Regions from separate parts of the Homo sapiens genome. Here regions 1 and 2 are each linked to region 3. The links are contacts of gene promoters, found by promoter capture Hi-C in blood cells and fetal thymus (Javierre and others, 2016). All regions are on one chromosome and are shown on one strand. Each heading gives the region's core, a stretch centred on a gene start or on the middle of the fragment in contact. The rest is flanking DNA. Distances are from core to core; before and after follow the strand shown.

Region 1 (4,248 bases), core at 144-2,643, 1.1 Mb before region 3:
AAAAAAGGTGTGAGCCTTGGTCATAAGCTGTGACTGCCTTATGGATTTTCTGGAAATGAAATCTGATCTTCAAATTCCGTACTTCCTGAGTGAGGTACAATCCAAAGGGAGAGAAGGCTTGTAACTGAGTCTTGCCACGGGACCAATGGTGGAAGTGAGGGTCACAGAAATTGGTCACTATGTCCTTCTCTGACCACCACATCCATAAAATAGAACAGGGAAGAATACTCAGTTTTCTAGAGTCATTTTTCCTCTAGCAAACTCAGGGACGTCATCTGCCACACCATCCACTGAGGCTTTTCCAAAGCTCTGTGTAACTCACCTTGGACACCCCTCTTCCTGACTAGACCATGATGACCTCTTTGGGAAACACAGCGTAACTATTTTTGTGTCCAGCATTTAAAGCAGTATTAACTTTCAGCAAATAATTGAATTTCTCTAGTTAAAATTGGTGTCAAGGTAGATTCTTCAATGACTTCAGGAAAATCACTTGAATGAAACAAAAATTAAGGTGCTAAAGATTCAAACAACTGCTAAACCATACCTGATGAAAAAGAGGAGCCATTCGAGCTGATATGGATGTTTTAATTGCATGTTCATTAACATGTTAACTATGAAATAAACGAAAGGCTCATCCAGATAGACAACTCAATCATTCATTTTTACACTTGACCACAAACGACTAGTTACTCTGCTGGACATTAATGGGTCACACAGATGTATGAACTGTCGTCTCCCCATTCTCACTTTCAGCCAATAACATCTCGTTTCATGGAGGAGTAGAAGCTACCAAAGAACTTCCTACGAACCACATCTACCCTCCAATCTCACCTATGCCCATGTCCTCTGCAAATTCACAACAAGGGCCAAACACCTCACTTGTACTAGATCCTATCCCCTCTTGCTTATCTAGGGGAACTCAAGAATTTGGTGAATGACAATGCTGCTGTAAGTGCTGGATGCTGCACTTCCCAAAGAGCTTCTGCTCTAGTCAGGGAGAAAGACAGATGTCCAAGGTAGTGCAGAACTTTGAAAACACCCTGAATAAATTATGTAGCAGATAACTTTTTCAAGGACACTGCTCCTCCTCCCCTACACCATCCACTTCCTCCTCTCTAATCTTTCCTATCAATATACAAACATGCTGTAATTTCTCCCATCTTAAAGAAACTCCAACTACTCCCTACTTCTCTATTTCACTGCAAAATTGTCAGGAGTCTCCAAGTTCTCTATTCCTTGTTACTTTATTCAATCAAGCTTTAATTTCATTGCTCCAACAAAATTGCATATAAAAGTCACCAGTGTCTAGGACTCCTGAGTTGCTAATGGCTATTTAGGTCCTTATTTTATTTGGCTTATCAGTAGTCTCTCATGGGGTAGATCATTCCCACCTCCTTGAAACTTTTTACTTCCCTTTCAGGTTATCACACTCTCCTGATTTTCCTTTCACTTCTTGAGCGTTCCTTCCTGGATTACTTTGCTGACTCATCTCTCCTCAGCCTCCTAATGCTGGGAGTGCCTAAGCTTCTTTCTTCTCTAGCAGCACTCATTCCCTTGAGTGAGTGATCATAGGTCTCACAGCTATAAATACCAACTACACACTCACGTGTCACAAATATACATCCCTGGCCCAGAACTCTTGAATTCCAAATTTGTATATCCAATCTTGCACTTCCATTTGGATGTTTAATAGGCATTTCAAACTTAACCTGTCAAAAACTAAGCTCATAATCTTTCTCCCTATCCTGCTTCACCCTCGAGTTTTTCACCTTGGTTAATGACAACTACAGCCTACTAGTTTGCTCAGGCCCTAAACTCTAACTCCTTTTTCACACCACATATTCAATCTATCAGCAAATCTTCTTAGCTCTATTTTTAACCAGAACCTGACCTTTTCTTACTACTTACACTGCCACCACCCAGGTTGAAGTCACTGGTATCTCTCACCTGGATTACTGCATTAGCCTCCTAACTGGTCCCCCTGCTCCCAATTCCTTAGCCCCACAGCAAGTTTTTCTCTGACTGATCAGATTCTAATAAATCATGTCCTGTTGCTCGTTGGCTAAAAACAGCTTCCAGTGGTGTCCCATCTTATTTAGAATACTAGCCAAACTCCTTAAAATGAAATACAAGACCCTATGTGATCTGCCCACCTGTCATCTTCTTGACCTGGCCTCCTATTCCTCTCCTAGTTGCTCACCTGCTCCAGCCCTCCTAAGCACTTGCTACCTTTTGAATGCATTGGGCATGCTCTTGTTACAAGATTTTTTCAGTTGGTATTCCCTCCGCCTGTAGGACTCTTTTCCTATGTGGCTTATTCCTCACCATCTTCAGCTCTTGACTCATTTTTTAGGTGAGGTCTTCCCCGACTACCCTTGTTATAACTGTAATTCAACCTCCCCTTTCTTTCTCCCTCACTGCACACACTATTTCCCTTCCCTACTTTGTTTTTCTCCATAACACTTACCATCTAACATACATATATGTGTGTGAGAATGTGTGCGTACGCACACACACACACACACATATATATATACACTTTTAAATTTTTTTGGTCTGTCTCCTAGCAATTGAAAGTAAACTCCATAAGGGTAGGAATTTTCGTGTATTTTATTCACTGCTAATCCTAAGCACCCAAACCAATATTCCAGTGTACACAACTAATAACTTACTGAATGAAATAAATTGGATCCCTTATTTCTAGGGGCTCATAATTGAGATGATATACATACACAAGTAAAACATTATATATGTCCTTAAAAAAAAATAACCATGGAAGAAAAAACATGGTGTCTCATGCATATTTAAAATGATCTTCACCATTTGAGAGTTCTGTGACCACAGCAAGAGTTTAGCAGAGGGCTAAAAAGTGCTCTTCAAACGATGATAAAGGAATCAGGTAAGGGGTGCCAGTGAAAGCCCTACAGTGTTATCCCCTCATACTCTTTATCTCATAAATTAATACTCTTCTTCATCACTTTGTAGATGAAAACTTGAAATGCTCATATGAAGACCTAACTACCCCAATCTCAATCACTAGAGAATCCCTGACTTTCCTTACAGACCTGGGCCCCTAGCTGTCAGGACTTAGTACCACACACCTCTCGGCAACCCATTCCTTCACAGATTTACCTTTTCCTTCTCTTGGACTAAGGTGGGAGCAGCCAACATATCTGAGTTTGCTAAGCTAACTTAAGAAATACTCATGGTGTGAGACAAAATAGAAGTTGTTGAAATTATACTTCTGAAACTAGGGTGCTTCTTACCCAGTTACCTTTCAATTCAACCTACTGGCAAAGAAATAACATGGGGCAATACAGAAAAAAATGACCCTGTGACTCTTCATCCTACTCCATTTCCCTTTTCTCCCAGAAGCGAGAAGTGAAAAACACACACACACATACAGAAAACAAAAAGACTTGAAAAATATTTCAATAAACGACTTCCAACATTCCAGAGTACTCCGTTCCACATTACCAAATGGTATACTAGTTCCCTTTCCCTAAAATATTTATCTTAAAAGATGTTCTCAAAGGCCATCAGTTTCCATTTCTTCTATTAGATTTCCTTAAAATACAGCAAGCAGATACATGTATTTAGTTGTTTTCTTTTTACCAATAAAAAAGGATAGGAGAAATATCCATTAAGAAGACAGTAATGATAATGAGAAATTATGTAAAATTTGTAGGACAGAAAATATTCTGGTGAATTTAAGGAAAGTTTAAAATTACAAGATTAAGTCAGTCTCTATTTTAAACACATTGTCATTAAGTAGGTTATATGAACAACCCATTGCTATTTCCCATATTTCAATTTAACAGTTTCAAATTTAACAATTTAAATATATATGGCACCAACCACATACAAAGCACTGAATCAACATGGGGAATTAAAGGAGACATGACAGATATGCTTCACATGGTCTCTGGATAACCTTATGGAGAAGACTTACACCCATGATATAATTATCATTCACTCAGCAAACATACATCATGTTACATATTGGGCTAGATACTGAAATAAGGAGACACAAAGCATAGATATTATCCTCCAAAAGCTCATTATCCAGAAATATGGATATGGAATAAAACTGAATAAAATGCCAAAACGCATGCTAGAAACATAGGGTACTAAGTGTAGTTTAAGATAATTATTTTAAAAGCATCAAATAGTATTAAGCATATTTAATATATAGAGAGTAAAACTTACTAAATATTATACTAATATTTTCATTGCTAAATCATCAGG
Region 2 (4,119 bases), core at 286-2,785, 1.0 Mb before region 3:
ACAAGGTATCACCTTCAAAACAAATATGGCCATTTGCATTAAAAATCTATACTAGTATGTAACTCTTGCTTGAAACACCTTCAATAACTGTTCAGGAAATAGTGATCAGAGTATTGCCTTGTAAAGAAGTGGATTCTTTTCCTAAAATTTGTATTAAGCAGATTCTGATATGTAAGTTTTTGAACCATCCCTTACCAGCTTCACATCTTTTACATAAATTACTACAAATGCTTGTGTAACTTATTGGCCTTTTTGTAAATTACTGTGATGCCTGAAAGTAAGATTTTTGAAATCTAGTCTTCATTTCATATATTCAGGGTATGGCAAATAAATATATTTTTTCTTTCTGTCCAGCCCTAACAACCTTATCACATGGCCTACAGAAAAGTAGTAGTATTTCATAGTCTTTTGTTTAAAGGAATTAGATTGAACATAAAAATAAAATGGCTGGGTGTGCGTGCTATATACATACACATAAATTCAGTCTGCAAAACCATCTTCATTGAAGAATTAATAACTATTTCTGGCAGTCAGGTGTACATATAAAAAGACTGATGAAGTAAAAAAACTATGGCATCTGCCTAAAGGCTTCTATCTGCACAGATAATGCAATAATGCTTTCTTGATCTAGTAATTACCATATAGTCTTTCTTCAAAACTATTACTATAAAGCTTGTGCTTTGTCTATCTTAAGGCCTATTATGACAGTCATCATCCAAACGCAGTCAAGTCTATTGTGTATAATCATAAGAAACACTTTGTAAGAGAAGAATTCTGGTACAGGTATTTTTATTGCAAAGTACTGTACACTTATATAAATGTAGATGAAAACATTTCTACAAGTACAACCATACACAAGGTGAAATAATTTAAAAAACACACACAAACACACATCCAAGTCCAGTCAGTTAAACAACATTGTGAATAACTACTATGGACCAGGCACTGGGATGCCAGGATAAACTGTGGGTGTGGTGAAATTAAATATCAACATCTATAAGTATATTGTCTTTAGCCAATACTGTGGTCACAATTTCACACTTAAATCCCTTGTTTTTTATATTCACATTCATTGTGGTGTATAATATCCAACTTAGCTAAAATACCTACACTCAAAAAGCTGCTCTGTCCAGCAGATCCTTGACTTCTCTGCTAATGGTGACATAAAGAATATCTTTATCCTCTGAAGCTTCTTTACTCCCTCAGCTGAAATCTCCAGAAATCTCAACCCATCACCCTTTCTTCTCCTAGTTGCCGCTATTCTCTCAGCTGAGTTCTACTGCCCAAGAGAGGGAGAAAAGGTAATCTTAGCAATGAGTTGTTCATTTTAACAACCTTATCAAGGCGGCTGGGGCTCAGGAAAATCCTTAGGATGCAGAACAAATTTAATTATATGAAGTACATCAAATGCTAAATGGGCATGTGTGAAGTAGGCGGAGAACACAGGTAGCTTCTGTAATATTTTTCTAAAGTAAAGCCAAACCTCTATATTGCTTTCCAAACTTCAAAAACTGTTTATAAGTGAACAGTTGTTATTCCTGAGTGTTTTAGAAAGAATCATATTTATTTAGGTTGAAAGCAATTAGGAGTTCACAATTAGGGAAAGCTATAATACAGACAATTAGGGTGAGAGGAGTGGCTGGGGAAATAACGTAGAAAAATAATTCTACTAACTAAAAGGGCAGACCTAGGTATGTGCTAGTGGTTCCCATGATTTTATCTTCCTACTCCTCTTCCCAAGAATGACCTCGTTTTGGTAAATGTGTGAATTCTTATGTAATCTCTATAACAACCAACCAGGAAATGGTATTGCTTATTAATCCATACTGTGCCTTGTGAACCTATGAATTTACTTTGAATCAAAAAAAGTATTTAAGCTTTAACAATATACAAAATACAGTACTTGTTAGATTCAATAAAGAAAACAAATTCATTCATTCATTAAGGAGTTATTGAGTGTCTACGATTTGGGGCTAGGAATCTGTACAAGAAACTAAATATACAATGGAGATTTCAGCCAAGCTGAGGATATAGATCTTAATCAAATAAACTCACAAAAAAACATAAAACAGAAAACGCTACAAAGGCAAGGTATTCCTTGTTGAATGCCGGGGAAATGTTAGAGAGATAAGGGAAGAGTCAGAGGAAGCAATATTTAAAAGATTATTTCAAATACCCCAGTGGGGGTTTATCAGTAGAAGCTGAAAGGAAAGGGCTGGGAAAGAGGACTTCAAAGCATAGGAAAATGCCCTGAGGCCATCAGGAACAAGTAGCAGGGCCTGGAAGCACAATGTGGCAGAAGGGAAGAGAACATGGGAAGTACAATGAAACGACCTAATGAGGGAAGCTGTAACAAACGTCTAGGCAGGACCTTGTAAGACTACATGAAGGAGACTTGTCTTTATATTAAAAGAAATAGGCAGCTATCAAAAGATTTTAAGCAACAAAGGGGGAGTGTTAAACTAATATGGACATTTTGCAAGGCCTCCTCAGGCTGCTCTGTGGAAAATGGTCTGGAGGAGGCCCGGAGGGGCTGTGGGTGGACCACTGCAGTAATCTGGGTGAAAGATGATGATAGGCTAGACTAATATGGTACCAGAGACAAAGAAGAGGGACTTGAGAGTTATTTAGGAGGAAAAAAACAAAACAAAACAAAAATCAACCAGACTTACGTTTTGAAATAGGACAAGTGAGGAAAAGGAGGGTTTCGAGAATAGCTTATAGTTTTCAGACTGCTATGACTGAGATAATGTATATGCCATTAACTAAGATATGGATGTTGAAAAAAAAGTTGGTTTTGGATACACTGGGACTAAGAAGTTTATGAGATATCCAAAAGATAAGTATGTCAAAGAGACAGACAAGTAAGATAAAGGGGCCTGGTCCTATAGATATAAATTTGTGAGACCTTGATACACAGGTCCTTAATGTCCTGCAGGTGGGATGAGCCAGGCTAGGTAAAGAGTACAGAGTAAGAAGGCGAGATGATACCTGAGATGAGACCACCACACCTAAGTCCCAATAATACATGTCAGACCTCTAACAGGTGTTTAACAGAGGGACAAAAAAGCAAATGGAAACAAAGCAGAGGAGAGATTAATTACATGAAGAGATATGGAAAGAAGCTGGGTTTGAAAAGTGTGTTAGAAACTAAAGACGTCATCTAGTCATGTGGTGATCATGCCAATAAACTACAAAAACTACCTGCATGTGTATGCTGGCAATATGAACTAACTCTTTCTGTAAAAATACAGAAGGAAATGCTAATACTGGTTACCTCTAAAAAGGATGTGGTGCTCTGTAGTGAAAAGGAAACCTAGTTTTCACTTATACTCTTTCTACTCTGAATAGTTTTCTGTGTAATTTTTAATTTGAAAAATAAGAGGGACAGGGGCCCAATAAGTCAAAACTGGGGCTATGGCTGAAGCACTAAGAGTGCTGTAAAGGCACTACAGAATAAAATCTAAACCATAAAGGATTTTAGGTAGGCAGAGTAATTTCTATGATATGCTTTCTTATCAAACCCCAAACTGGAGAACTCTGACAACAGAGATTTTCTAATTCTGAAAAATCAGATTAATAAGAGCTTTTAGAAATCTTGGCTAAGATTACTTAACCCTTCTTAGGTCTCTTCCCTCCCCCATTCTTTGCACACTGTACAGTTTAAGGGCTCATCCAAAACTGAAGCCATTTCGCCAATATATTGTAAATCTGAATTACAACTTAACCATATGTGACAGATCATCTTGTTTTCATTTTCTGCCTTTAAGACAGGCTATGATTAGGTAAAATACAACTAACAGTTGATAAATGTGTCAAGCTCTAGCCCAGTTTATCATGAGGCTTAAACTAAACACAGACTCTAACAGCACCTGTTTGTCCATTAGTTTTTTTCTGTATGTTTTGCAGTTTGATATACGAGGGCAGGTATGGAAATGTATCTTCTGCTAGCAAGTATTTGTGTTTTGTGCTACATTTTTGTTCAGAACCTTAATGCCTACACGGAATCCCTGACCTGCGAAAGACTCAAAATTCAATAAATCTATTTCCTGCTTATCTGTGGCTTTATGGAAGATCTTTTTCCTTGGTGGACAATGTAATTACAAAGCTTCATACTAT
Region 3 (3,887 bases), core at 658-3,157:
TCTAGCCAGTGACTGAGCAAAACTGGTACAAGGGCCTAGCCATTTCATCCCATTGTAGGCCTCTTCATCTTTATTCTGGAGCTACTATTTCCTCCATTTTCCTTTCACCTTTATTATTCATAACTCTTTCTCAGTGTCTGCTTCCTGAAGGACCCAACTGACAAATCCAATTCTTTTCCAGCTCCATCTAGTTCTCCTCTGCTCAACCCTAACTTTCCTATTTCTGTTGATAGTTGTAGAGGTAGTATATTCATCAGGGTTCCCTAGAGGGACAGAACTAATAGGATATAGATAGATAGATAGATAGATAGATAGATAGATAGATAGATACACACACACGCACACACACACGTATATATATCCTATTACATATATATCCTATTTTTTATATATATCCTTATATATATATCCTAATATATATATCTATATATAAGGATATATATATAAAAAGGGGAGTTTATTAAGTATTAACTTACACAATCACAAGGTCCCACAATAGGCTGTCTGCAAGCTTGAGGAGCAAGGAGAGCCAGTCTGAGTCTCACAACTGAAGAATTTGGAGTCCAATGTTTGAGGGCAGGAAGCATCCAGCATGGGAGAAAGATATAGGCTGGGAGGCTAGGCCAGTCTTGCCTTTTCATATTTTTCTGCCTGCTTTATATTCGATGGTAGCTGATTAGATTGTTCCCACCAGATTAAGGGTGAGTCTGTCTTCCCCAGTCCACTGACTCAACTGTTAATCTCCTTTGGCAACACCCTCACAGATACACCCAGGATCAATACTTTGCATCCTTCAATCCAATCAAGTTGACATTCAGAATTAACCATCACCGGTAGTATTGTGGGTTTTTAAATATATGAATACAAATGTTCATCTCCAGATCCATCTCCTGTGCCCTGTATTGGTGCACCAAAATGCACCATCAACAATGGCCAAATATCTTAAATATGAAATAAAATAGATAACACTATTGTATACTAGCAATTATCTTAAATGCATCTTGTGTATCAACTAATTCAATTCTTAAAACTACTGCCTGGATGGATACTATTGGTATTTCCATTTAACAGATCAGGAAACGGCCACAGAATGTGAAGTTACTTGCCCCAGTCATCCATAAATAATAAAAGGACTCAAGATTCAAAATAAGTAGTCCAACTGCAGTGTTTTTATTCTTAATCATCACACTCTGCCTCCAGAAAGGAGTGGAAGCACAGCACCCTAAAACTGTAATAGAGAAGTGTGTGGAGAAACCAGTCCTGGTTTATGAAAGATTTGATAACATAAAGATATTCTTGGTTTAGGAAGAGAGTTTCCAAAATAGCAAGTAGTTGAACTTTTAGGTTTTGTTACTAGTGAAAAGTGAAGTTTAAAGAAACTGTTTGATGCCCTAGTTCTGCACGCTGTACAAACTGCTACTTCCTACTCAGCCAGGCAATCTCTTTATTCTCAGGTCATACCAGTTGGTACCTTAACCTAAAAGAGAGGCAACACAGTCTCTATAGAATTAGTTTTTCCTCATTATTTCACTCTATTTATGATTTAATATTCTCCCATTCTTATGGCCTGGATATCTTGGAATTTATTAGGCACTTAACTGTTGGTCAAACTCTTATAAAGTCTCAGGAAAATCTCTCTCTTAAGATTTTTCAAGGAAAGTGACAACTGACTGCTTTTTTAAAAAAAATTTCCCCAAAATGCAGTGAAATAGTTTTAAAGTAAATTCGGCTAGACCCTGAACACTACTAGGCTGCCAGTGAGCAGCGTGGATGTTAACTCGCTGGCGCGCATCTGTATGAACTACAATTCCCATCGTACACCGCGCCATTTCACGCTAAACTACAATTATGCTTTCCTCATTTCCGTCAGCACAGGCGCTGGATTTCGGACTTTGTAGTTCATGCCAACTTCTCTTTTTTGTCGCCATTTTGGCAACAAGACAGTGTGCCTGGATCGACTACTTTGACTCTGGTATTATGATATGGTATTTGAAATAAATTAAAGGGATAACGTGTCAAGCCAATTGAGCGTCAAGTTTTTAAATATTTCACTATTCGCCTTCTTCCTACCGTCGGTGCTCGGGAAGAGGAAGTGACGTACGTCCGGTGTAATGGCGGCGCGGTGGAGCTCTAGGTAATTATCGAACTCCGTGGAGTCCCCGCAGGCAGAGACGCGGAGTGGGGGTGGCGGGTCGCCGGATCGGGTGGGAAGTAAAAGACCCCCAGGAGTGGGTGCGGGCTCACTGATACGGCTGTGAGCGGCATTGGAGTGTGCGTGGGTCTTCTCGCTACGCTCGGGCCCGCAAGAGGGGTGTGAGAGCGGCTAGGTCCAAGCAGGTGGGGAGGGAATGGGCTGCCATGAACTGACTGCCTGAGCGGACCGGCTGACCTTCCTTGTGAAGTTCCTGGAGCTGTCTGAAATCCTGCACCAACGCTGGTGCTGTGTTGTTTCTTGTGCACTGCGTTTTATACTTAGAGCCTCTGGAGTCCATTGGGGCTTGCCAAAGCCCCTTTCCTAGTGCCCGGGTCCCAGGGTCAGGGGAGTGGGATTAATGAGATCTAGTTGATTAAAAGTTAGTTGAATTACTTGCACTCTTATGCCTCTTGCCGGCATTATATCCCTTTGACTATTTGTTTTAAATTTCATTAGCGTCTTCTTTTTCATTTATTTGCCCTGTAAATACTGATAGTGTCTAGTGTTTAGTCTTGAAGACACTTCGCTTCTCATGTGCCCGCTTCATCTGTCATTCTTGATCCTTCCATAACTTGAACTATCTCCAGTGAGGTAATAACTGCCAAACTTGGGTCTCCAGGCTCCACCTCTCTAACGAGCTCTGGGTCCTACAACACAGCATTATATAACGGAAATATAATAGTTAATTTCACTGAGTTTAACTGCAAAAACCACGGTACCTATTTCCATTTAATCCTAACAATTCTTCTGAGGTAAGTGGAGAAGGCAGGATTTGGAGAAAGGCTATTCTAGATGCAAGAATTAGGTAAGAGTTTCCTTTGCATTTTTAGATGTGCAGAGACTCGAAATAGCAGATAAGCAAGCAAACTTGGTTCTCAGCAGATCAGTTAACCTACCTCTTATCTGTATTTAGACTTACCTTGTTTTAGGATTGCTTGTGAATTCAGGAGTTAACATAAATTATCATCCTACTATGGAAGGGCAGATTTAAAATTGACATTAAAAGTGTGGTTTTGACCAGGAGAGGAGAAGCATTGTTACAGGCGTTATCAGTAGGTGGAGGAAAGCCACTTGTGTTGGTCCTGGGTGATGGACTAGTAGACCAAAGATTTCTGTTTTATCCAGCTATTATTAGGTCTGTCACTTGGAGCAAGTTACCTAAAGTCTCTAGTGTCAGCTTCATCATCTGGAAACATGTAGGTAGTAATACAATACCTGCCTCACTGTATTGTCTTTTTTTGAGTATAAAGAAAAATAATGCAGATGAGGCACTGAGCACAGCGTTAGCGTTGTATTATTGTAAATTACTACTATGATACAGTTGATGAGTTCTCTCTGTTCCTCAATTCTTGTTCTCTGGTTCTGAATGTTGCCTTTCCACCTGTAAGTGTCCTTCCAGTTGTTTTTTGTTTTTTGTTTTGTTTTGTTTTGTTTGAGACGGAGTCTTACTCTGTCGCCCAGGCTGGAGTGCTGTGGCGCTATCTCGGCTCACTGCAAGCTCCGCCTCCCTAGTTCATGCCATTCTCCTGCCTCAGCCTCCCAAGTAGCTGGGACTAAGGTGCCCGCCACCACGCCTGGCTAATTTTTTGTATTTTTAGTAGAGACGGGGTTTCACTGTGTTAGCCAGGATGGTGTCTGTCTCCTGACCTTGTGATCCACCCGCCTCGGCCTCCCAAAGTGCTGGGATTACAGG

What was found. The method cuts DNA at HindIII sites, captures the fragments that hold promoters and counts their contacts. A CHiCAGO score of 5 or more calls a contact.
Region 1: a fragment that was not itself captured here is called in contact with the fragment with the promoter of CWC22 in region 3 in 8 of 17 cell types (total CD4 T cells, M1 macrophages, non-activated CD4 T cells and 5 more); the score reaches 13.5 in total CD4 T cells.
Region 2: a fragment that was not itself captured here is called in contact with the fragment with the promoter of CWC22 in region 3 in 3 of 17 cell types (naive CD8 T cells, naive B cells and total CD8 T cells); the score reaches 6.2 in naive CD8 T cells.

Annotation. Positions count from the first base shown.
Region 1 is chr2:181,067,538-181,071,785 of GRCh38, reverse strand. No RefSeq gene overlaps it. Among named protein-coding and RNA genes, the nearest start is that of LINC01934, 54 kb to the left of the region's middle. The HindIII fragment of the contact is 267 bases long and covers 1,260-1,526 here.
Region 2 is chr2:181,046,165-181,050,283 of GRCh38, reverse strand. The region is part of intron 3 of UBE2E3 (ubiquitin conjugating enzyme E2 E3); the gene reads right to left. Among named protein-coding and RNA genes, the nearest start is that of UBE2E3-DT, 67 kb to the right of the region's middle. The HindIII fragment of the contact is 688 bases long and covers 1,192-1,879 here.
Region 3 is chr2:180,005,317-180,009,203 of GRCh38, reverse strand. CWC22 (CWC22 spliceosome associated protein) reads left to right here and starts at 1,907. Exons shown (of 20, transcript NM_020943.3): 1 at 1,907-2,337. RefSeq lists an enhancer at 2,227-2,759. The HindIII fragment of the contact is 3,569 bases long and covers 514-3,887 here.